Linked DNA regions of Homo sapiens: all the other regions are linked to region 2. Evidence: promoter capture Hi-C in 16 types of primary human blood cells and fetal thymus (Javierre and others, 2016). All regions are on one chromosome and are shown on one strand. The core of a region is centred on a gene start or on the middle of the fragment in contact, and the rest is flanking DNA. Distances in the headings are between cores, read along the strand shown. Region 1 has its middle 27 kb from the start of CCDC93. Region 2 holds the start of LINC01956 (long intergenic non-protein coding RNA 1956). Region 3 has its middle 11 kb from the start of CCDC93. Region 4 overlaps LOC105373578 (a long non-coding RNA gene). Region 5 has its middle 130 kb from the start of THORLNC. Region 6 overlaps LOC105373578 (a long non-coding RNA gene).

The links. Contacts are between HindIII fragments. The CHiCAGO score rates a contact against its expected background, and 5 or more counts as called.
Region 1: a fragment that was not itself captured here is called in contact with the fragment with the promoter of LINC01956 in region 2 in 7 of 17 cell types (activated CD4 T cells, total CD4 T cells, non-activated CD4 T cells and 4 more); the score reaches 8.3 in activated CD4 T cells.
Region 3: a fragment that was not itself captured here is called in contact with the fragment with the promoter of LINC01956 in region 2 in 4 of 17 cell types (erythroblasts, naive CD4 T cells, non-activated CD4 T cells and 1 more); the score reaches 6.2 in erythroblasts.
Region 4: a fragment that was not itself captured here is called in contact with the fragment with the promoter of LINC01956 in region 2 in 1 of 17 cell types (M0 macrophages); the score reaches 5.4 in M0 macrophages.
Region 5: a fragment that was not itself captured here is called in contact with the fragment with the promoter of LINC01956 in region 2 in 1 of 17 cell types (endothelial precursors); the score reaches 6.2 in endothelial precursors.
Region 6: a fragment that was not itself captured here is called in contact with the fragment with the promoter of LINC01956 in region 2 in 14 of 17 cell types (M0 macrophages, M1 macrophages, naive B cells and 11 more); the score reaches 12.9 in M0 macrophages.

Annotation. Positions count from the first base shown.
Region 1 is chr2:118,039,453-118,043,460 of GRCh38, reverse strand. No RefSeq gene overlaps it. Among named protein-coding and RNA genes, the nearest start is that of CCDC93, 27 kb to the right of the region's middle. The HindIII fragment of the contact is 6,011 bases long and covers 1-4,008 here.
Region 2 is chr2:118,834,415-118,838,415 of GRCh38, reverse strand. It overlaps LINC01956 (long intergenic non-protein coding RNA 1956), which reads left to right and starts at 2,270. Exons shown (of 3, transcript NR_199712.1): 1 at 2,270-3,928. The HindIII fragment of the contact is 14,254 bases long and covers 1-4,001 here.
Region 3 is chr2:118,023,102-118,027,292 of GRCh38, reverse strand. No RefSeq gene overlaps it. Among named protein-coding and RNA genes, the nearest start is that of CCDC93, 11 kb to the right of the region's middle. The HindIII fragment of the contact is 4,453 bases long and covers 1-4,191 here.
Region 4 is chr2:118,187,853-118,191,800 of GRCh38, reverse strand. It overlaps LOC105373578 (a long non-coding RNA gene), which reads left to right. Exons shown (of 5, transcript XR_923249.3): 5 at 3,621-3,828. Among named protein-coding and RNA genes, the nearest start is that of THORLNC, 3.4 kb to the right of the region's middle. The HindIII fragment of the contact is 4,372 bases long and covers 1-3,443 here.
Region 5 is chr2:118,312,529-118,316,797 of GRCh38, reverse strand. No RefSeq gene overlaps it. Among named protein-coding and RNA genes, the nearest start is that of THORLNC, 130 kb to the right of the region's middle. RefSeq lists an enhancer at 363-863. The HindIII fragment of the contact is 426 bases long and covers 1,947-2,372 here.
Region 6 is chr2:118,207,895-118,211,958 of GRCh38, reverse strand. It overlaps LOC105373578 (a long non-coding RNA gene), which reads left to right. Exons shown (of 5, transcript XR_923249.3): 2 at 3,784-3,857. Among named protein-coding and RNA genes, the nearest start is that of THORLNC, 24 kb to the right of the region's middle. The HindIII fragment of the contact is 3,372 bases long and covers 223-3,594 here.

The sequences.
Region 1 (4,008 bases), core at 263-2,762, 790 kb after region 2:
TGCACAGCCAAAGCAAGACTAAGCAAAAAGAACCAATCTGGGGGCATCACACTACCTGATTTCAAACTATGTTATAAGTCTATAGTCAATAAAACAGCATGGTACTGGTATAAAAATAAGCACATAAACCAATGGAACAGAATAAAGAATCCAGAAAAGAACCCGAATACTTACAGCCAACTGATCTTCAACAAAGCAAACAAAAATGTAAAGTGGGGAAAGGACACATTTTTCAACAAATGGTGCTGGGATAATTGGCTAGCTATATGTAGAATGAATCTGGATCCTCTTCTCTAGCCGTATACAAAAATCAACTCAAGGTGGATTAAGGACTTAAATCTAAGATCTGAAACTATAAAAATTCTAGAAGATTATATTGGAAAACCTTCTAGACATTGGCTTGGGCAAAGATTTCATGACCAAGAACCCAAAGGCAAATGCGATAAAAACAAAAATAAATAGCTATTTAATTAAACTAAAGAGCTTTTGCACGGCAAAAGGAAGAGTCAGCAGAGTAAACAGATAACCCACAGAGTGGGAGAAAATCTTCACAATCTATACATCCGATAAAAGACTACTATCCAAAATCTACAACGAACTCGAACAAATCAGTAAGAAGAAAAAAAAATCTCATCAAAAAGTGGGGTAAGGACATGAATAGACAATTCTCGAAAGAAGATACACAAATGGCCAACAAACATATGAAACAATGCTCAACATCGTTAATGATCAGGGAAGTACAAATCAAAACCACAATGAGATACTACTTTATTCCTTCAAGAATGGCCATAATCAAAAAATCAAAAAACAGTAGATGTTGGCATGGATGCAGTGATCAGGGAACACTTCTACACTGCTGGTGGGAATGTAAACTAGTAAAGCCACTGTGGAAAACAGTGTGGAGATTCCTTAAAGAACTAAAAGAAGAACTGCCATTTGATCCTGCAATCCCACCACTGGGTATCTACCCAGAGGAAAAGAAGTCATTATACAAAAAAGATACTTGCACACACATGTTTATAGGTGCACAATTCGCAATTGCAAAATTGTGGAACCAATCCAAATGCCCATCAATCACCAAGTGGATAAGTAAACTGTGGTGTATATATATATATATATGTGTGTGTGTATATATATATATGTGTGTGTATATATATACATATATACAATGCAATACTACTCAGCCATAAAAAGGATGAATTAATGGCATTTGCAGCGACCTGGATGAGATTGGAGATTATTATTTTAAGTGAAGTAACTCAGGAAAGGAAAACCACACATTGTATGTTCTCACTGATATGTGGGAGCTAAGCTATGAGGATGCAAAGGCATAACAATGATACAATGGACTCTGGGGACTTGGAGGGGAGGTTGGGAGGGGGGCAAGGGATAAAAGACTACAAATAGGGTGAGTGTATACTGCTCAGGTGATGCGTGCACCAAAATCTCACAAATCACCACTAAAGAACTTACTCATGTAGCCAAACACCACCTATACCCCAATAACATATAGAAAAAATATATATTTTTAAGTCTTGTGTTTAAAATGGTAGGTTGGGTGTATGCATTGACTTCCTTCTGAGACACAACTGAAGTGTGAGGAAAATAATTAAAAATATATATGTATCTTTAACCTGCAAGGACAATGAGAACAAGCGAAAAGACCACAGTGGATAAAAATTAGCAACAGCAAGTGAAAAATGTCAACAAATTTCTAGAAGTGGAAAAAGAGATGGAGAACTGGTGTCTGGCATTGTAGAGGAGAGAATGTAGAGACACCTTGGAGCCCAGTGGGGGTAATGGCAGAGAGCGATTCACCGCTTAGAACTCTGACCACTTCAGGGCTGAGGCACAGGTAGCTTGGAGAGCAGGAGTTAAGGCTCAGGCAAAGCTGAAAACAGGGAGGTAGTCTGAAAGCCTCTGTTAGAGCCACTGGACCCATCCCGGCTCAATCCCATCCTTTACAGTTGCATCACCAACCCCCTGATTCTCACAAGTAACCAGAGAATTGTTCTCTGGAGACCCTGAGAGGGCCAGAATCCCAACTCTGGAACATGTGTCAGAGTAGAGGCAATGGATGAGGCTCTGTGCCCCAAACTGAAGATTAGTAGAGGTCCACGTACGCATGGCCAGAGCCCCATCCTGTCTCCCGTCTTTGACCAGGGCACCAGGAGCCTGCTGTATGCTCCCCACGCAAGACATTGAAAGAGCTTCTCTGCAGAAACGATGCCCCTGTGGTGGTTGGTACAGTGGCGACTTAGCTAAATGGGAACTATGTTTAGCAGAATCCCCTTCCCTGGGTGGTTCTGCTTGGGCTGACAAGACGATCTGTGTGAAGTTTGGCAAGCAGAAAAGGGAAGCTGCCTCTGCCATGTTCTGAATGTGGGTGTAGCGTGCTAGGTGCCACCACAGCCCGCAAACATTGTCACTGGTGGCTAGCTCATTCTGGTGTTATAGCAGGGCTGCCAGACCCACAGCTCCATTGCCCCCACAGACTTCCTTCCACGTGGGGCATGGCACAGCTCTGCTGGGAAATGTTCTGGCTTCCTTGGCAGGTCACCTGCATCACTGAGGTGGAGGTGGTGGTGGCGAGAACACCCCTAACTACTAACTAGGTGTTTGAGTACCACAAACTAAGTGGCTTAAACAGCAGGAACAGAGCCTTCTGGGATGCTAGAAATGTTCCACGACTTGATCAGGGTGGTAGCTCCTCAGATTTATCCACAAGTAAAAGTTTTTCAAGGTTAGGCACTTTGTAGAGAATATGTTATACTTCAATACAATGTTAACCAATGTTCTACATAGCATTAATCATTTGCAGTGAGTGCTATCAAGAAAAGTTACAGTGTTCCATAAGAGGGCCTGGTCTGAGATGTGGGATCTGAGAGAACACCAGAGAGGTTGATCACAGGAGGTGACCGGGGGGCTGTGGTGTGAAACAGGCATGGGCCAGAGAGGGCACCTACTTGTAGCCCATGATAAAGACATTGCACTCATCTCTGAGACCTATGGAGGGGCTTCCAAGCAGGAGACATGTCATAGATTACTCTGAAAAGAACGAATGTTCAAGTACTTTTTTTACTAGCTGAGTTAGCAACTGAGTGTGTCTCTGTAGCAATACTTTATTTTCCAATTTGCATTTAGGGTATGCACTCATTTCATATAGACCACGATATGCTTTGGATTTGTGTCCCCACCCAAACCGCATGTCAAATTGTAATCGCCAGTGTTGGAGGTGGGGCCTGGCAGGAGGCGATTAGATCCTGGGGGCAGATTTCCCCCTTTGGTTCTGTTCCCCTGATACAGTCCTCATGAAATCTGGTTGTTTAAAAGTGTGTGGCACCTCCCCACTCCCCACTCTCTCTCTTCCTCCTGTTCTGGCCATTTGAAGATGTGCCTGCCTCCCCTTTGTCTTCTGCCATGATTGTACGTTTCCTGAAGGCTCCCCAGCCATGCTTCCTCTACAGCCTGCAGAACCGTGAGCCAATGAAACCTCTTTTGTTTATAAATTACCCAGTTTTAGGTATTTCTTCATCGCAGTGCAAGAATAAACTTAAACCATGACTTCTCTCTTCGCTTTTCCTGTCTCTTCTGTTCAAGACACCAGTACCACTGAGTCAGTGTCTGACATACACACAGGATAGTGCCCATATACCTCCCCCAGACATAACTCTAAGAATGGACAACATCTAGACCAAGACTCTTCTGCAGAACCAGCCAGCTCGATCTTCCAGTGGACCATTGCTCAGACAGTGGTCCATGAGGCATTGATTAGAAACTGCAGTAAAATATGCTTGGGAAATATTTGTTCAGACAAAGTTACACAGTTTTCCTATTGCAGGACTTTTCATAGAGTTTCCTATGTTAATGTGCACTATGATTATCTAAGAGGGGGAAATTACATGCAACATTCCCAAATTTATTTGAACCATGGGACCCTTTTGTGAGGTGAACGGTATTAGCAAGTCAAGATACTATGTTAATCTGAAGAGTTACAACACGGTGCAT
Region 2 (4,001 bases), core at 1,021-3,520:
CAATGTCAGTGTTGGAAGGGTCCTCAGAGATTCTTGAATTACAAAATCCTGAGAGAGAAAGTGCCCCAAGAGAAAGCACAAGGCAAATGAGAGGCAAAGTCCTCAGATTTCCTATCAGTCCAGGCCTCTCCTCACTGTGCCGTCAAGTGGGTAATGTCAACATGCATGCAGTCACAATGCACACATGTACACACTTCCACACATACAAATGCATAAGCATGCACACACCCATGTGGATACATATGCACACATGCAAAACATAGGCATGTATACAAATGTCAGTGGACCAATATACAGTGTGTTCACAGCAAGCACATGGACATTGCCTGTGTAGAAGGTTCTGGCACACAACTATACATGAGCCAGGAATACACATACTGGTGTCCAAGATGCACCTGCATGCCCCAGCTGGTGGGCTTCACCCCTAGCCAGGGGAGGGAAAAGACATTGTTTCCAGGGCTCAGGACAGACCTGTGTGCCCTCTCCTTTCTGTGGAAGCCACCAAAAGGAGAGGCAGCCCCTTCTCTCTCCCCTGGAGGCAGCTGGTCCAGTCCAGGTGCCTGTGCTCAGACACAGACCCAATGCTACAACCCTCTCCCACCAGCAAGTACACTCAGTGCTCTGCCAGCTGTAGCTCTTGGGACCGGAGCAGACCCAGGGCAAGAGGAGGTAAACATCCCAAACAGATTTCTCAGAGGCTTGGTAAGTCATGGGCCATTAAAATTTGCTCCTTGAATTTGCTTCGAATACAGCCTTCTCCACCTGGGTGCCACTCTGGAGATGGAGTGGGCCCCTCCACTCTGGAATTCTCCCCACAGGTATGGGGGTGGGGTGTTTTGAGGACATTTGGGAAGATTTCAGGCTATAGTAATGGAAGACTCTAGGTATGTGTGACCCAATAGAAAAGCAGAAATGTATTGTGTGTGTGCATGCACACACATCCTGAAGAGAGTATTCTTATCAACAGCCTGTGACTCTGCCTTTGGCAGGCAGGTGGGTGGGAGTGCCAGGAGGGGGCAGGGGATTGTAGAGGAGACTAGTGAGTACTCGCCTCCCCCTCCTCAACTCTGATGAGGAGTGGGGTATAAAGCCGGGCACAACTTAGATTCCTCTCTGCCCCCTGCCACCACACAAGCGCACGGAGAAAGCTCCATCTGGGGTGCTCGCATCCTCCCCTCCTCCTGAAGACCTGGTCTGCAGGCCTCCAGGACCAGCGCAGAGGGGCGGGAGCCTCCTGTGAGAGAGATGAGAGTCCAAAGACAGAAGGGACCCAGGAGAATTTCTGATTCAACCACGACTACTGCAAGAGTGGGCTTGGGCCCTGACAGCAGCAATCGGGCCCTGACAGCAACCATTTCCTGCAGCGAGACCCACGGCTCTGCCATCTGATAAATAGAACACAGTGGAAAACTGGACGGAGAGAGCTGGGGAGAAGCCGCCTCCACACTCCCAATTTCAATACTGAATCCTGAAGAAAACAAAAGCGAGTCCCAGTAACGACCACAGCAGGGCTCTCCTTGCCCTTCCCCCGCCCCTTCACCTCCAGGTACAGGACTTGTCCATTTAGCAGAGTGCAGGCAATTCAGAAGATGTCACTCCCAGAAATTCAAAATTAACATGATCATTAATCACTGAGGGTCTTCCGTGCACATTGCTAGCCATTTAACACAATTTATTTCCTTCAACAACATACATTTCTGTGTGTTGCCTATTATAATCCCCACCTTACAGATAAGAAAAGTGAGGTCCAGGGTCATCCTGCTAAGGTCTCACCAAATCACGTTGAAGTCTATACTGTAGTTACTTATAAATAGAAGAATGATTCGCAGTCGCATAGCGCAGTGTCAAGTCTCCACATTGGTCCTGGACTTTGGCACCTGGGGGAGCAGGGGGAGCACTGATTTGCGTGAAGGGCTGTTATCCCTCCTCTCCTCTCCTTCAGTCTTAACTAGGAGTAGCCTCAGCACCTCTCCAGCCCTCTTCCCTCTTACTCTGTAACTCAGGTCCGAGTTCCTGCTCACACACCCCTACTCTACACCTCCGACCCGGGTCTCAGATTAGCGTCCCAAGAGATTCCGATCTTTTCCCAGATTAAGATGCCCCTATCCCCGCACAATCAGCAGTTTCCCCCCTCACACTTTCCTCCCGCACCTGCGTCCAGACTGGGTCCGCCGAAACGGCCCGCCCCATCCGGGCGTCTTGGCCTTGCTCCAACCCGGCTGGAGCTGCCCGCGCCCGGCACGGTCCGCGGAGGGCGCTTCTTACAGGCACTTCCGGTCAGCGCAGCCCAGGCCGCAGGAGGGTACGGCCCTGGACCCCCTCTCTCCAGTGGGGGCTGGAGATGGGAGCGCAACTGGGGCTCCGCCGAGGTCTCTGAGGGCACTTCACCCCCGCCCCCGACCCCAGGAACTGCGAAACCCCAAATCTTCTTGCCCACCGCGGGGCGCAGGTCCTGCCCACCCGCTCTCCAGGGACGCGCGCAGAAAGGCAGTCCCGGCCGCCTCCCCGCGCCAGGGTCCGGGCAAGCGTCTGAAAGCTGTGCTTGGGCCGCAGCTCCAGCCATCGCCCCTCACCCCCGGTTCTCCCGGGCCACGTTCATTGCACAGTTTCGATTTGTTTAGGCCGGGGTCTCCTCTTCTTTCCTCAACATCTTTTTCTGTGGGCTCCCCGCCTCCGTATTCCTCCTCATCCTCTGCTCCAAGGTTTCCGTTTTTTGCACCGGAGGCCGCCCTTCTGCGACCAGCCTTCTCCGGCCGCTCGGACTCGGCCTCTGCAGCGGGGTGCACCCGGGCGTCCCTTCGGCTCCCGGCCCTCCCTCTCTCCTCGTCGCCCAGCCCTGCCTCCAACTTTGCGCCCCCGGCTGCCCCGCGCCGCGGCTCAACTGGACATCCGAACGCTCCGACTGTCCGCTCCCCTCCCCTCCCCCGGCCGACACGTGGGGACCAGCGCTGACCTTGGGTGAGGCCACGCTGTCCCCCGCTGCTCTCCAGTCACCCCTGTATCCCTTTGACTCTTGGGCTTCCGAGTAGGGGCTCCCGGAGTATTACCAGGGAAAAGGGGAGCGCCCTTCCCCTGGTAATGAGAGTAGCCACGCAATGTCGGCTGCGCAAACTGGGCCTCAGAGCGGCCAGGCCAGGGTCAAACCAGGAAGAGGGGGAGGGGTGGACAGCAAGGCTGAAGAGACCTGACTTTATTTGTGTTGCTTCAACTGGTCCTGAATGGTTACACGAGGCGCGCGCTCTTGCACACACACCGCGGGCAGCCCAAACCCTCGCTGGCTCGGCCCGCCGGCTCCTCGCCCTGCCAGTCCTGAGCCGGCTCTGAGCCACTGGAGTCAGAGGGCCCGGGCGCCTGCCTTCTCGGTGCGGGCTGGGGAGGACCTGCTCGCGAAGGGCTGCCAACTGAACTTTTCCTGCACCAGGTGAGCCCCTTCTGAAATCCTCGCTGCGGGATACTTTTTTTTTTTTTGAGGGGGCGAGAGGAAGTTGCAGAGCAGCTCCGGCCCCACCACCTCTTTCCGCAATAAAGCCACCATCCTCAGGGCGCAGAGATTTGTTCTCCTCCTCTCCTTTCTTGGAGCTGTGTGGCCAGTTCTCTTACCCAGGCAAAGCTGAGGTTTCCTGCTCGGGTTCACTGTTTACTTAGGATTTCTCTAAAACTAGCGGCGCCAACTTGCCCTCCCTCTGCGCCTTCCCTGGCGGCCCCCACCCAGGCCTGGAGGAACTTCCAGAAGGGTGAGGCCGGGCAGGCGGGGGCGAGGAGGCCGCGGCCTGGCAGGGACTGTTCTTCCATCCTTTGCTGGATTTCCCGCGCCTTCTATCCCTGCAGATTGAGCTCTGGCCTTCACCCCGGGCCTCTTAACTTCAGGTCCGCCCAAGTGCCCTCCTCTCAGCAGGCGGAGGCTCACAGCTCTGTCGGGAGTAGGGAGGTAGGTACCCCAGGGAGGACGGCTGAACCTAGTTCCACGCTTATCTGGCCTCGAGTTTCATATCCATTCTTCA
Region 3 (4,191 bases), core at 827-3,326, 810 kb after region 2:
GCCTTTGGCAATGCAAATTTAAGGTCACCTACCTAACAATTGTTTAGAGCAAGGAATAAGCAATCATAAGATTGATAGTCTAAAGTGGAGAGAGAGAGATCTTGAAAACTAGAAAATGCAGAATATTTATTTATTTTTGAAACAGGGTCTCACTCTGTTACCCAGGCTGGAGTACTGTGGCACAATCATAGCTCACTGTAACCTTGAAGTTCCAGGCTCAAGCAAGCCTCTCACTTCAGCCTCTGGAGTAGCTGGGACTACAGGAGCACACAACCATGCCCAGCTAATTTTATTTTTTTGTAGAGACGGGGCCTCACTTTGTTGCCCAGACTGGCTTTGAACTCCTGGCCTCAAGTGATCCTCCCACCTGAGCCTCCAAAAGGGCTGAGATTATAGGTATGAAAAAATTAATAAATCTCAGGACCCCAAAATCACTAAGCCAAAGAGAAAAGTCAGCCTGGGAACTGCAAAGAGCAAACCTGCCTCCCATTCTATTCCTAAATAGGATGGCTACAAAGATAAAAACCTACATACCTCCCTCACAATTTGTCCACAAAATAATTCCTTGTGGACAAAGGACAGACAGAACTCAAAGTCATCCCTCTGCTCCCAGGAGACAAATGCACAGCTGATTGCTTCCTTTGATTCAGTGGAAGGCTAATCAGAAACCCAAAATAATGCAACCATTTGTTCTTTGTCTACCTGTGACCTGGAAGCCCCCTCCCCACTTTGAGTTGTCCCACCTTTCCAGACTGAACCAATGTACATCTTACATATATTGATTGATGTCTCATGTCGCCCTAAAATGTATAAAACCAAGCTGCGCCCCGACCACCTTGGACACCTGTTGTTAGGACCTTCTGAGGCTGTATCATGGGTGCATCCTTAACTTTGGCAAAATAAACTTCCTAAATTGATTGAGACTTGTCTTAGATACTCTGGTTTACACAGGCATGAGCCACCATGACTGCCTAGAAGAATCTTTAAAAAGCTGTAAGATCTGCTTCTCTCTGTGTGTCCATATGTCTATATGTATTACGTGTATGTGATATTTCTCTACTAAAATATATGAAAAAAAGCTCTAATTTGCTTGAAGAAAACCTAAGCAGTTAGATCAAATATTTTAATGCCTTTTAGTTCATGTGATCTGCGTAAATCTTCGGTAAATAGGATTAGTTTATTACTATTGTTGTTTAAATAAAAACAACTGTGTCTTGTGATCAGGAAAACACCCATGCATTTAACTTTAGAGTTCATGCTTAGCATTTGCATGCTATAAAAATGGTTAACACGGGCCGGGCCTGGTGGCTCATGCCTGTAATCCCAGCACTTTGGGAGGCCGAGGCAGGTGGAACACGAAGTCAGGAGATCGAGACCATCCTGGCTAACACGGTGAAACGCTGTCTCTACTAAAAGTACAAAAAATTAGCCGGGCGTGGTGGCGGGCACCTGTAGTCCCGGCTACTCGAGAGGCTGAGGCAGGAGAATGGCGTGAACCTGGGAGGCGGAGCTTGCAGTGAGCGGAGACAGCACCACTGCACTCCAGCCTGGGTGACAGAGCGAGACTCCGTCTCAAAAAACAAAACAAAACAAAACAAAAAAGGTTAACACAGAAATAACTTAAATGATGGCTAGCCTTGTTTAATGGGCACTTCAAGAATTATTGTTAAGAATGAGTAGACTAGGTGAATATAGACAGGATAAAAGTTTATAAATAAAATTTTCATGGTTTCAAAAATCTTTGTAGATAACTTAAAGTTGTGTTATAATTAATAGATTCTCATGAAATGTCTGAATCATTTCTAAGTATGATAAAATGCTGAAACATTAATTGCTGCACGTAAGTTTAAGTTTGTTTTTGGCTTCTTGAATTGTACAAAAAGACAAAATGCATTTAGGTCTGTTAGTAAATGTGTTCTATTCCACATTGAAAAATTGTACTTTAGCCAGATAAAACAGATGGCACATGCATGTAGTTCCAGCTACTCAGGAGGTTGAGGCAGGAGGGTCACTTGAGCCCAGCTTGTGTAACAGAGACCCCATCTCTAAAAGAAAAAGAAAAAAAGAAAATTTGTACCTTCAGGAAGCACATATTTCTAGGAATTATGAAATGGTCCTACTCTACAGAATTGGTTTGCAACTGCTAAGAATTAAAAAGTATAATTAGTATACATAATTAAAACTACTAGAAATAAAGGGAACAATTCAGTATGCTAAGCAGGAAAGTGAGAGTGTTTTTGTTGAGAAAAATTATAAGAAAGGCATAAAGGTATGCTTTTTTCCCTTTGGGAAAAAAGTAATTTTGTCTAATTTTGATATTATTTAAAGGTTCTTTCAAAATATGGACTTAGGAACTAAAAAGAAGCAAGGAAAGAGGGAACCTGTAAGCAGGAGAAAGAGAGATTTTGTGTTTTATCAAGTTAATTTCCTATGCTTCATACTGTCTTTATTAGGTCTCTGATTACTTAAGAAAATTGAGTTAAAGGGTTTTTTCCTACAAATATGCAATTTTTTTTTTCCCAGACAGGGTCTGGTCCTGTTCACCAGGCTGGAGTGTGGTGGCATGATCTCCGCTCACTGCAACTTCTGCCTCCCGGGCTCAAGCCATCCTCCTACCTCAGCCTTCCAAGTAGCTGGGTCTACAGGAGCATGCCGCTGTGCCTGGCTAATTTTTTGTTGTTGTTGTTGTATTTTTCGTAGAGACAGGGCGTATTAGTTCATTTCCACGCTGCTAATAAAGACATACCCGAGACTGGGCAATTTACAAAAGAAAGAGGTTTATTGGACTTACAATTCCACGTGGCTGGGAAGTCCTCACAATCATGGCTGAAGGTGAAAGGCACATCTCACATGGCAGGAGACAAGAGAAGAGAGCTTGTGCAGGGAAAGTCCCCTTTTTAAAACCATCAGATCTCATGAGACTTATTTGCTAGCATGAGAACAGCACAGGAAAGACCTGCCCCATGATTCAATTACCTCCCACCGTGTCCCTCTCATAAACACATGGGAATTCAAGATGAGATTTGGGTGAGGACACAGCCAAACCATATCACGGGGTTTTGCCATGTTGCCCAGACTGATCTCAAACTCCTAGACTTGAGCGATCATCCCGCCTAGGCCTCCCAAATTGCTGGGATTACAGGTGTGAGCCACTTCCCCCAGCCTTGCAACTTCTCTTAATTAAAACTCTGGTTAAAGGAATAATTATTGTTTCATAGTGGCCTGTGATCCTACTTTTGATCAAGTGTTTTGAAAGTTTATTTTCGACAAACTTCCTAAAATCAAATTATAAAATTAAGTCCTTTTGACCTTGAACCAGCTGTTGGACAGCCCAGAGGGCCCCTGGAAATGCAAAAGAGAGATATTAAACAGATTAAACAGCTTATTTGATTCCTTAAATTACATGAGAAACTTTGTCAAATAAGAAATGGAATTTAACCTTCTTCGAGTTATATTTGTATGTCTTTAAGGAGGTTCATAATAAGGATAGAAAGAACCCTGGCAAGTACAGGTTTCTGATAACTTTAAGGTTTTTTTTTTTTTTTAATACCATTGGACTGGGTAAGAATTTCTAGAACTCTAATGAGACTGATGGGTTTGTGAAACTGCTAACCAAGATCAAACAGAACAAAAATTTATTACATGAGACTGAATGAACTGACAAGAAAGAATAATGGGGCTTAATGGCGTTTTAAAAAGGGAGTATTTCTGATTCTTTTAATGTTTCATTATCCCGATTTAAGGGAACTTTTTTTCTTTCTTTTTTTTTTTTTTTTTTTTGTGAGACGGAGTCTCGCTCTGTCGCCCAGGCTGGAGTGCAGTGGCGCTGTCTCGGCTCACTGCAAGCTCCGCCTCCCGGGTTCACGCCATTCTCCTGCCTCAGCCTCCCGAGTAGCTGGGACTACAGGCGCCCGCCACCATACCTGGCTGATTTTTTGTACTTCTAGTAGAGATGGGGTTTCACCGTGTTAGCCAGGATGGTCTCGATCTCCTGACCTCGCGATCCACCCGCCTCGGCCTCCCAAAGTGCTGGGATTACAGGCGTCAGCCACCGCACCCAGCAAGGGAACTTTTTTTCTTTTAAGCTAACTATAACTTATAGCAATTTGCTAATGCATACTTTTGTAAACAAAAATTGAAACATTTGCTTTTGTTCCCTACCTGATCCCTCCAAAACTCAGGAAATAATTC
Region 4 (3,948 bases), core at 8-2,507, 650 kb after region 2:
GATCCTGTCCACACTTCTTGGACTGACTCTAGCCACTTGTCTGGGACCTCAGCCTTTTTCTGCTTTGCCTCCTTCACCCGCCCCCCACCCATAATACCATTTACTATCCCTCAACATACCCAGTGTGTTTCTTCCTCCTCTGTAAAACTGCAGGGTTATCTCTGTTGCTCCAGAAAGCCTTCCCTGACCTCCCTTTTCTTCCAAGTGTGATAAGAAGCCCTCCCCTCTGCCTCCACAACACTTCTATAAACCTGTCCCATAGCACAGGTGTATTGACCCAGGTTGGTCTCCCCACTAGACTGAGACTTTTGTGAGGACAGGGACCATGTCTTCATATCCTCTGTGACTCAACAAATATTTATTTCATAAACAGATGAGAACCTCATTAAAGTATTCCTTCACACAATGAGGGAAGACAGTTAATAAAATTTCTAAAGGAGCAACAGCTACTTTGTTCTTAAGAGTGCAAATCTTTGTTACATGTAGAATCTAACTTTTTAAGCCTAATTAGATATTTGCCTATATTAATGTATTTTACTATGTCATTTGCTTTGCAAAGTGCAGATAAAAATTCCAAATGTTGGCTGGCATTAAACAACTTCTAAGGGTGAAATTAGCAAATTAAATGAATTTGGTCTACAACTGGCACGGGAGATAATGGTCCTTGATTTGGCTGCAGCACGACTTTTGCTCAGTTGTTGGAGGCATTGTTTCATAAATGGTCTCTTAGGAGGATTATAATGGAAATGGCTAGTGATATTTAACAAGGTAGGTAGGTAGATGATAAATAGCTAGATAGATTATAGATAGATAGATAGATAGATAGATAGATAGATAGATAGACCTTTCGCACATTAGGGATAAATATATCAACCACAAATAATAATAACTATCGTTGACTGAGCAGCGGCTCTGTACCAGACCCTGGGCTAATTATTTGCATCTCTGATCCTGTGGTCTCCTCTAAACAATCCTGGGAGATGATTTTCATTATCCCCATTGTACCAGTGGAAATATTGAGTCTCAGAGGTTGAGCAACTCATCAATGAGTAAACATTTAGTGAGAGAGGCTAGGCTGAGATCAGATTTCACTGCTTGTAACCACCAAGCAAAACTGCCTTTTGTCAAAGGTTTACAGTGGTCCTATGTAATTAAGAGACAAGGGCATCTAGTGGCCATATGGCATCAAATACAAATAAAGAGCCTTCATTCCCTGTGATCTGCAGCCACTTCAAAAAGACACTTCAAAGACAGAGGCAATACCCAGGATGTCCAGCCCAGTGGGGGAAATTCAAAGCCAATTTAAATCCTTGATGGAATCCCACTTGAAGTGGGGAGTCTAAGACAAATGCATGTAAATGAAAATCTAGTCATTAAGCATAGAACTAGTAATTTCCTGGAACTAAGTCAAGCAAGTGTCACATAGGAGCACCCTAGAGAGAGGATCAATGTGACTAGAATAACTGGAAAGGAAAGTTAAACAACATCTAGGGAAAGCCCAATATGGTCCAAGTAATGCCCCATGCTCTTCACCTGTGTGATATCATTCATTCCTCAAAGTGTCCCTGTGACGCACTCACAGTCAGGGCCATTTTACAGATGGAAAAACCGAGGCTGGGAGAGATTCAGAATTGCCTCATAAGTGGCAGGACAGTCTTTCAAACCTGGGTCCATCCTGTGTTTTCTGTGGAGTATGCTCACCTCCCCCATTCCTCAATCCCTACAAGCCTGCCATTCCTAATGGATTTTTTAAAGTTCTCTAAGTAGTCACTTGCCAGCAAACTGATAGAGCCCAGCTTGAGGCTGTGGTAAACACCAGCCCTTGGTGGGGGGTGAAAGACTGAAATTTCAGGAAATCGTGGAAATACTAGTAATTTGAGAGCATTGAGACACATTGAAAGAGCAGGAAACAAAACAAAACAAAAATACTCCAAACGTTCATTCTATTATTGGAAACCTGAAGAGATGAAAATATGACCTTTTCTGCCTCCTTGCTTCCAAAATAGTGACAAATGTGTTTTATATTTTTACAAGCTATATTAACAGAAGCGACTTCAAATGTGTGTGGCCTCCCGGGAGCTTGATGTTTTGATCTATCTTTTTTTGGCTGTTCTTTGGCATGGAGAAAAGGGACGCTTTTCTAGCAGGCCAGTGTCTATATGGTTTTGATATGGCCCAAACTTTGGCCAAACAAAGTCGTAACCCAGCCAGTCTCTCAAACCATATCTCTTACCCAACTCAGAGGTGCCCCTTCCAACCTAACTGCTGAGGCCTGACAGATACCAAAGAGGATCTTCAGAGACGCCAGAGGTCGGGTGCCATCCCTGGAAACGAGGAGAACAGAGTGCTGGAAAGAATCTTCCATTCTTACTTTTTTCCTCTGAGCCTTGATTTCCATATCTGAAATGAGGAGACTCTGCCTACTTCCTGGAGATTTGTGAGGAACAAAGAACTTTTGCACAGTACCTGATGTAGTAGGCACTTAATAAAAGAAGCTGGACAGATGATTGCCTTTCTCCACAATCACCTCAAGGGAAATACTAAAGCAGAAAAGTCATTCTATGGGGGCAGCTTCAGGGCAAATGAGGAAGGAGGCACTCTTCCCTTCTACTGCCTTGAAGGTAGCAACCACTGCCAAATGACTGCATGTCCATGGGGGTGCAGGCAGCTATGTCGCACTGGGTGGCAGCTACCCACATCCCACTGAGGCTCAGTGGGAAATAGCTACATGACCGAGGAGGAGCTTGATGGCAGGGACTTCTTTAAAAGCAGAAGCCTGGTCCACTTCAAGGAGCAAGTGGCCAGTGCCCAGGCAGCCCATGTCTGCATCCTTGGCTACTCTACAGCATAACTCATACAGCTATGGAGTGCGCCCTACGCACAGGCCCTGAACCAAGGGAGCAAATGAGGGCCAAAGCCCAGCCCATCCTCCATGCAGCTAGCCAGACTCCCTGGCTGGAGGAAGGAGGTGCCTCTCGAATTTTTATAAACCGCATAGGAACTAGTGGTGGCCAGGTGCTTCTTTGGAGTTTTTAAGACTGACTTTGAATCACAAAAAGAGTCTTTGCCTCCTTCCACCAACCTTACCAAGTCTCCCCTATTTGCTAGCCGACCAAGCCACAGTCCCTGCCTCGAGGGGCCCAGAGTCTGATGATGGGACAGACTTGGAAGTAAATGACTGCAGGACAGGATAACCCAGCTAGGACAAGTGCTTCTGGAGAGACAGAGGAGCAACTGCCCAGATCACAGGACCCATTATGGGCAGGGCGCAGAGGAGAAATCTTCATCAGAAAGATAAGGAAATGCAGCCAAATGAAAAGAGGGAATGAGAGGGAGCAAGAGGAAAGGAAATGCAGGGAAAGGAAGAAGAGAATAAAGAAATATTGCAAAAGATGAGATGAAAGTGAAAGAATGAAGAGGATCCCAGCCAGTATGAAGAAGCTTGTGAGTGTGTGTGTGTGTGTGTGTGTGTGTGTGCATGCGTGTGTGCACTTACACCAGACAGAGAAATATAGGGGTGGGGTACACTCTGCGCAAGGCATTGAGATGGTCACTTTATAGACCTTATCTCATTGAGTCCTTATAGCAATCTTGTGATCATTACTATTCCCATTTTACAGATAAGGAACTTAGATGGAAGCCAAAAGACCCAGCTGATATATGATGGAATCCACGCTGCCCCCAGTGTACCACAGGAGAGGCAGAGCTGTCCTTTGCTGCTGGTGACTCAGTCCCTCCAATGCCCCTCTTCGTCTTCCCCCTGTGTCAGGCTATTGGATCACTGCAGCACCCCCTGGAGCCCCGAAGCCATGGCCTCACCACCACAGTGACGATTTCAAATGCCAGCTCTGGCTGAGGCTAAGGTTGCTGGCATGAAATCAAGTCTGCCATTAGCACAATGTCCAGGGAACATTTGGGCAGCTATCTGTCCCTCTCAGCCCAGGTACA
Region 5 (4,269 bases), core at 910-3,409, 520 kb after region 2:
ACAAAGTAAGACTCAGTCCCAAAAACAGACCAAAACAAAACAAAATCTGTGTGCATTGTAGAACTGATGTCTTAGAAAAAGCACAGAACTAAGAGTTTGTAGCTTGACAGACTGTATGTTCCAGGCATGTGACCTAAGCATTCCAGGTTAGAAGAGGAAATTGGTTTAGCTCAGGATGGCCGAACTCAGTATCCATGCAATCTCTCAATCAGCCATTCAACAATAGCATTAAGCACTTCTTCCACTTCAGCACTATACCAGGTACTAGGTAAATAGCTGGGAAGAAATAGACAGGGTACTTTCCTCAGGAAGTTTGCTGTTAAATGAGTGTGTTGTGAGAAAAGGGTGAGAAAACAAATACACACATACATATAATGGCAAATTATGAGGCATGCAACCAAGAGACATTAATAGAAGTGGTTTGCTTCAGGCAGGGAAGGCCTCCACAAAGAAGTGACATTAAAATTGAAACTTAATGGATGGGATGGGCACAGTGGATCATGCCTGTAATCTCAGCGCTTTGGGAGGCTGAGGCAGGAGGATGACTTGGGGCTGGGAGCTTGAAATCAGCATGGGCAACATAGCAAGATCCTGACTCTACAAAAAGAATTAGCCCAGTGTAGTAGCGTGTGCCTGTAGTCCTGCCTACTCAGAAGGCTGAGGTGGGAAGATCACTTGAATGGAGGAGTTCGAGTTTACAGTGAATTATGATCTCACCACTACACTCCAGCCTGGTCAACAGAGAGACATCTTGTCTCCAAACCAGCTAGAAAAACAGTGGTGGAGTGGGGAAAGTATTCCAAATAGAGTGTGCAGCATGGGAAAATGTGCTGAGACTGGAAAGAGCTTTGCACATTTGAATAACTGAAGTAAGATTCGCACCCGTGGCAGACATCACTAATTGATCACAGCCCTCCTTTCTGTTGAAAATGGACAAAGCCTCAGCATTCTCAGCACAGCACTCCAGGCAGCCACAACTAATCCGTTCGAGTGGGCAACCACCGAAACCTATTTGTCATCCCTGAAACACCTGGTTACAGAAGGCTCTCCCAGGCCTGGAGTTTCTGATTCTATGATTCTCATTTTATTCACTATTTGAATATTAACTCTTGGTTTGAACATTCTTTCATGTGCCTGTTTTCTTCCATTATTATTGACTTCCTGGAGATGATGAGCCTTCTCTCTCATCCCATTCCATTCAATTTCCACAGGCAAAGCTCCTTTCCATACATATATTCCAAAGGCTCTTCAAATTCCCTTTCCCTAGTGGAATCTCAACGATGTGTATCAGTTATCTATTACTGTGTAACAAACCATACCAAAAGCTAGTGGCTTTAAACAACAGGTTACCTTTCCCAAAGATTCTGTGGTTGGCTGGTCAGTTCTCACTCAACAGATTTCAGATGGGGCTGAGTTCAGCCAGGGCAACAGGGAGAGCAGAAATGGCTGGGCCTCTCTCTACTTGGTCTTCATCCCAGCTTCTTCCTAGCATGGCGGTATCAGAGTAGAGTTATAAGAGGGTGAAGAGGAGGCTGCAAGGCTCTTTAAGGCATAATCTCAGAACTTTGATCGTATGGCTCCTTCCCATTCAATTGGGCAAAGCAAGTTCACATCAGGCCAATTCACATCAGATCCCCCTCCTTTTTCTTGGGAAAGGCAGCAAAGACACATTGTGAGGGGAGTGCATCCAAGAAAGGGAGGACTTTGTGGGCATATTTTTTTATATAGCCCAATAAGAATCTATTTCAAAATTGGGGAGGTAGACCAAAGAGCCCAGCTGTCTCATTCCTAGCCCATTCTTCTCTCTCTATCATTAAACCATTAGACCCCCCTTGACCTTAAGGCACTACTTGCAAGTTGGCGATTAGGATACCTAACAAAATCGTAAAAATTCCTCAGAGCCCAGCTGGCCAGAGTATGATGCAGCCAACAGACAAACAAAAGCTTTCAACCTGAGATAGGTCTGTTTACTTCTCTGGAGACACCAAGTCACTGACATTCACGTTCCTGATTAGCTCAACTCCCCCAAAACAAGACCACTGAACTGTCCAGTGCTTTTCCTTCATGACTTAACTACTTATCACTTTCTACTTTATAGAGATTGTGTTGGATTCAAGGCAGATGGACAGATTTGAATCCCAAATGCATCTCATACTACTAGCTGGATAACCCAGAGAAAATTTCTTTGCCTTGGTTTTCTCATCTGTTCAACGGGAAAATAGGAAACTTGCAAGATGGTTGTGAGAATTAATGGAAATAGATGCAAAGTCACTAGTAAAATTGCTGGCTTGCATTAGGTACTCAATAATTATCAGCTATTACTTGTTATTAATGGTGTTTGGTCAGGAAAAACTTCATGTAAGAGAGAAGCTTGGACTGAGTTTTGAAAAATAAATAGAATTTGGGTGCTGGGGAACTATCAGATGGAGAAAGTAGCAGACAAAGAAATGCACACTGTAGGTAATTTAGGTGTAAATAAGTGGACTAACTTGGTTGAAGCGGTCTTGTCTTTACATTCAGCCTTCAGCCTTCATCCTTCCTTCACTGGTTTAGGAAATAAAGTAGGGAAGGAGACTAAGGCCAGATATGCAAGAATTGTGAATGTATGGATAAGAAACCTGGGCTTTTTCTAGCACAGTTGAGGGCCATGGAAGGACAGAGGGACAAAATGAAAAACAAGCCTCCAGGGCATGATCAGAAAAATTAGTCCTGTCATCATGGCAGGGTGGCTAGGCTGGAGATAAACCAGAGGGAGAAAAAACCATTGGCAAGTGAGATGGCATATGAAGGTCAAGTGTGTTTGATCATGTTTTCAAAACTAATGCTTCTCATCTCTTCAACTGAGGCTTTAGGCAGTTTGAAATTATGTCCACAAATTCTTTGACACTGCTCCTATGGAAAAACAGAGTCTATTCCCTCCCCTTGAATGTGGGTTCACCTCAGTGACTAACCTCTAATGAATAGAATGTGGCAAAGGTGGCACTGTGGACTTCAAAGTCTAGATCATAAAAAGCAATACAGCTTCTGCCTAGTTATCTTACCCTTAGGATGCTTGCCCTTGGAACCCAGCCTCCAGGCCATGAGGAAGCCAGGTAGCCCCCTGGTGGAAGGGCCACATGTTCCAGCCCCAGATCCAGCTGAGGTCCCAGCTGACAGCCAGCATCACCCTCCAGACACGTAAATGAGAGAGCCTCCACATGACCCCACCTTCAGCCTTTGATCCCCACAAGCTGAGGCTAAGTGGAGCAGAGATGAGCTGTCCCTGCGGAGCCATGCTCAAATTGCTGATTTGCAAGCAAAGTAAATGCTGTTGTTATTTTAAGTCGCTAAGTTTTGGGGTGTTGTGTTACACAGCAATAGTTAACTGGAGCCAGCTGTTCTGTGTACTGGCTGGGTGTCACACATACACTGATTGTTCTCATACTTGTTCAGAAGGCCAGTTACCCAGAAATCATAATTTTTGGGTGGAACATCCTCTATCCCATCACTCTTTCCATTTTCTTCATAGCATTTGTCACAATTTGCAATTATAGTCTGTATTTGCTTGTTAGCTTGTTTTCTTTGCCTCTTTAGAATAGAAGCTCCCTAGGTACCCTGATCTTGTCTGTCTTACTCACTGCTGTATCCAATTACCTACTAAGTGCCTGGCATATGGTGAGCACACTATAAATATCTGTGGAATAATGAATGAGTAGATAAACACTATGAAACTCGGATATATTCAATTCCATTACAGCAACCACTTACAGAAGACATGTGCCAAAGTTTTAAGAAAAGAAAAATGTGTGCAGTTTAGGATTTTTTTTTTTTTTTGAGACAGAGTCTTGCTATGTTGCCCAGGCTGGTCTCAAACTCCTAGAACTTGGAACCCAACAATCTTTCCACCTCAGCCTCCCAAAGTGCTGGGATTATAGGCATGAACCACTGAGCCTGGCCCACTTTAGGATGTTAATGGAGAAAATGATTTACCTTCACTTTTTTGTTTTTTTATGAATTGGTACCAAGCAGCCTTTGGGCCCTTGTTACTACACCATCTCAGCTGGGCTCACAGAAAAAGAGTGCTTTTCGGATGCTTCCTCTGAGAACCATTACACACGTCATCTCATCAAACCCTCGGTAGCTCCGTGTGGCAGGTATTCCTGTTTCCAATTAAGGGACGAAGACACTGAGGCTTAGAATGATTCAGTATCTCTCTCAAGAAACACAGCTTTGAAGTGAAGAAACCAGGGTACAAACTCAGGTGGGACTCCATACTGGCAACACATGGGG
Region 6 (4,064 bases), core at 659-3,158, 630 kb after region 2:
AGGTTTCTGATGAGAAATCTGTTGCCATTCTAATTGTTTTTTTCTTGGAAGCAAGGCATCTTTTTATTTTCTTTTTTTTATGGCTGCTTGCAAGATTTTTTCTTTGTTTTTAGTTTTTAGAAGCTTAATTATGACATACCTTGGTGTAGATTTCTTTGGTTTATCCTGTTGGAGATTTGCTCCACTTCTTGAATCTGTTGGTTTCTGTTTCTTGCCAAAGCTTGGAAATTTTTAGCCATTATTTTTTCAAGTACTTTTTCAGCCTCACCCTTTTTTTCTTCCTTCAAGATTTTAGTAACACAACATTAGATCTTTTGTTACAGTTCATGGTCTCTGAGCCTCTATTCTTTTTTTTTCAGTCTATTTTCTTTCTGCTGCTTAAATTTGGTAAAATTGCAATTGTTCTTTCTTTGACTTCACTGATTCTTTCCTTTGTTTCCTCCATTCTGCTGTGGAGCTCATCCACTGAGCTTCTTATTCTGGTTATTGTATTTTTCAGTTCTAAAACTCTCATTTGGTTCTTCTTCATATCCTCTATTCCTTTGCTGAGATCTCCTGTTTCTTTTCTGAGGCTTGCTATTTTTAAATTGGCTTCCAGGGTGTTCATAATTGCTCATGGAAGCATTTTTATGAAGACTACTTTAAAATGCTTGTCAAATTATTCTTACATCTCTGCCATTTCTGTGTTCACCTCTATTGATGGTCTTTTCATTAGTTTGAGACCTACCTGGTTCTTGGTATGACAAGTGATCTTTGTTTGAAACCTGCATATTTTTATATCGTTAAGAACCTCTAGATCTTATTTAAGTCTTCTATTATAGTTAGCTTTGTCTGACATCACTCCAGCAGGAAGAGGAGAGATACTACTTCATTATTTTCCGTGATGGTAGAAGTCCAAGCTCCCCACTCAGCCACTCCCCATGGAAGGAATCTCATCCTTACTGCTGGGCAGGGTGAGTTTTTGCTCCCCACTAACATCGTGATGTTGGGGTGCAAGGAGAACTTGATATCAGGCAGAGCTGAGAGTCTTGGCTCCCTATTTGGCCTTCTCTAACACTGCTCCTGTGTGTGGGTGTTGAAGCACCTCATGACAGGCTTTGCTAGCATGTGTAGGACTGGTCCACAGTTTATCCTGTGGCGTTTGGCCAGAGTGTAATAATTATCGTGTAAATATATTCTACCTTGCTAGGCTTCCCCTTTACTGAAACTTTACTAGAAAGCCTTTATTTATTTGTTTGTTTGTTTGTTTATTTATTTATTTTTCGGTCTGTGCCTCTTGGAGTTTCCAGGTTCTCAGCTTCTTCAGCTCTAACATTGGGATATATAAGGTTAGAACAACAACAACAACAGAGTAACCAGGAAACTCATCAGTGAGTCATTGTTTAGGTCCTGAAGCCTCTATCCAGTCTGCCTTTTTCTATCCATTTTTCAGTCTTCTTATACGTGTTTTATATATAATATTCAAGGTTTCTAGTTGTACTCAGAGGAAGGAATAAGGAAAATTTTATCTACTCCATCTCCCCAGAAGTGGGAGAGTCTGCAGTTCTTTTAAATGACATAAAATATAATTATTGATGTGGAATTTTTCTCGTAATATGTTGCTAAGTCAAGTTGTAAAACACTGTAATTATATCTTTACAGTAGAATGTGTATACAAAAGTCTAGAAAAGTGTCCGGAGTTGGTATCAGTGACTAACTTCCAGATATGGGGATCATAACTGATTTTTATTTTCTTTTCATCAGAATTTTCTGATTTTTGACTTGAAAAGCACTTGCATAATTTTAAAAAGCATTTAAAAGTATAAATGAAATGAAGTATTTATATATATTAGAAATAACTATAATATTAGCTACTGTTTATTGAGCAGCAGCTATTTTGGGTCAGATGAAATACTGAGTAGTTTATATGCACTATTTCATTTAATCTTCACAGAGGTAAGATAGGCTTTATGCACCCCATTTTACAGGTGGAGAGACAAGTCTGGCAAAGTTAAGTCACTTGACTATGTTTACAGAGTTAGTAAGAGCTGGGATACTAACTGAGCTTGCTGACTTCCTGCTACCTCCTAACAATCACTGACATATTTGTGGTGCTTTATAGTTTACAAAGCATGTTTCACACATGCTCACATTTAGTTCTCCTGATAACCTAGAGGTGAAGTTGAAGGGGACGCCAAAACCTGACCTCCAGAATTTGGTTTCCATCTAGACCTTCAGTGAGATTCAGATTGTCACAAAATGAGAGTGGACTAGATGAAGTCTCTCCAACTCATTGTATCCAACTTGCCCTCAGGGATACTCTCTGGAATCTTACCATCCACAAGGCTACCTACAGGGACCTAAACATCCTGTGTCCACAGAGCCTCCCATGAAGAGCAAAGAGCCAGTTCAGCAGATGGATAGAGAAAACACTCCCCAAGGGTCACTGGACAGCAGTGCTACCACAAGGGAGACAGGGGGCCTGGGTCCCCTCCCTACCCCTGAGTAGAAACACTTCACTCATAATCCAGATTCAGCTGTGAGCCCCTTGTTCTTTATTTCCTCCTACCTCAAGCTCCAGAGGGAGAAATTCTGCAGCATCTCTAGGAGGGAGAGACGGAGTAAGTAGGCAACATCTTTGGAAGTAGCCATGTTGGTCTTCCAAGGCCTCCCACTTTCTTTTTATTACCCAACCCCTATTATACTCAGGAAGTGTCCTCTCCCTACCCTTGTAACCTCCAGGGCCCAGGAAGGACTTCTTTCCCATCTAGAATTTGTTCACTCACACACCATTTGTTCTTCATACACGTTCTGTTTGGCTCACATGATACTAGTTGGTTTTTAGTTGGCCAGTTAGTTTGATGTGAAGTAATTGACATATAAAAATCAAAAAAGTTCATAGAATTCAGTGACTGGATTATCTCAAAAAGCTGGAAGATCTGGCACTAGGGGTCATGTGGCTTCATGGTGCCAAGGTACTAGAGCTGAGTGGCACCCACTCCGTCACTGAGGCCCATTCTCTCCAGTTTGCTACAGTCCCCACTGCTCTCTCTTATGAATAGTCACAGTTCACTGATTACCTAACAAAAGATACACTTTTGTGTACCCTGCTATCAATTAATTCCTCCTCTTTTCTCTGCCTCCATAAAACACTGTTTTCCTCTCAGATTTATCAAAGGTCTTCAAAAGGAAGCAATCTGATCAAACTTATTGCCACCACAGACACTTGCTATCGAAGTCTGCTCCCAGACCAGCAGCCTGGCATAACCCGGGAGGTTGCTATGAATGCAGACTCTCAGGCCCCACCCCAGACTTCCTGTATCAGAATGTGCACGTTAGCAAGACCCCCATTCATGTGCATGTCAGCATTTGAGAAGTGCTGTCCCATGCAGCTCTTTGACCCTTATCCCACCCAGGGGTATATGTGTGCTCAAAGAGAAAATTTATGACACTAATCAGTGAGATTTTAATGTGAATAAGTGAAGCTGAAGACATGTCATAGATTTTAAGGGAGATCTATTCAGATTCACTGACTTTACAGTCTACAAGAGACTCTGGCAACATGCTCATGATTGGTAGCCCAGCTCCTACTTTGTGGCTAAAAACTTGGAAGCTTGGAGAGGGGAGCTGTCTTGTCCAAACTCAAAACCTAGTAGTAGAGCTAAGAGGAAAGAGAGGGGAGGCTGCCTTGCAATGTTGTCAGAGGAAGAGAAACGACACTACTCCTAGATTACTGATCTCAGATTATTTGGGATGGTTTCCAAGAAACTGATATTTACTGTTGGTCCTGCTTTGTCTACATAGGTGGCTCTCAACTTGAGTGTGCAGCACAATCACGTGCAGAGCTTGGTCAGCTGATTGCTGGACACTACGCACAAGTATGTGGATGCCTTGGGCCTCAGGCCAAGCTGCTTCTGCCCCTCCCGTATACACCTATGCCAATGCTTCAGCTGACTAGTGAGCCTCGGGAAGGATGGTCCACAAAAGAGGTCCATGCAGGTCCTGATTGAGGGCTGGGAGCCATTCAAGAAGGGAATCTCAGGGTCCCAGAACCCAGAGTGTGGCCAAGAAGGTGGAGGGCATGG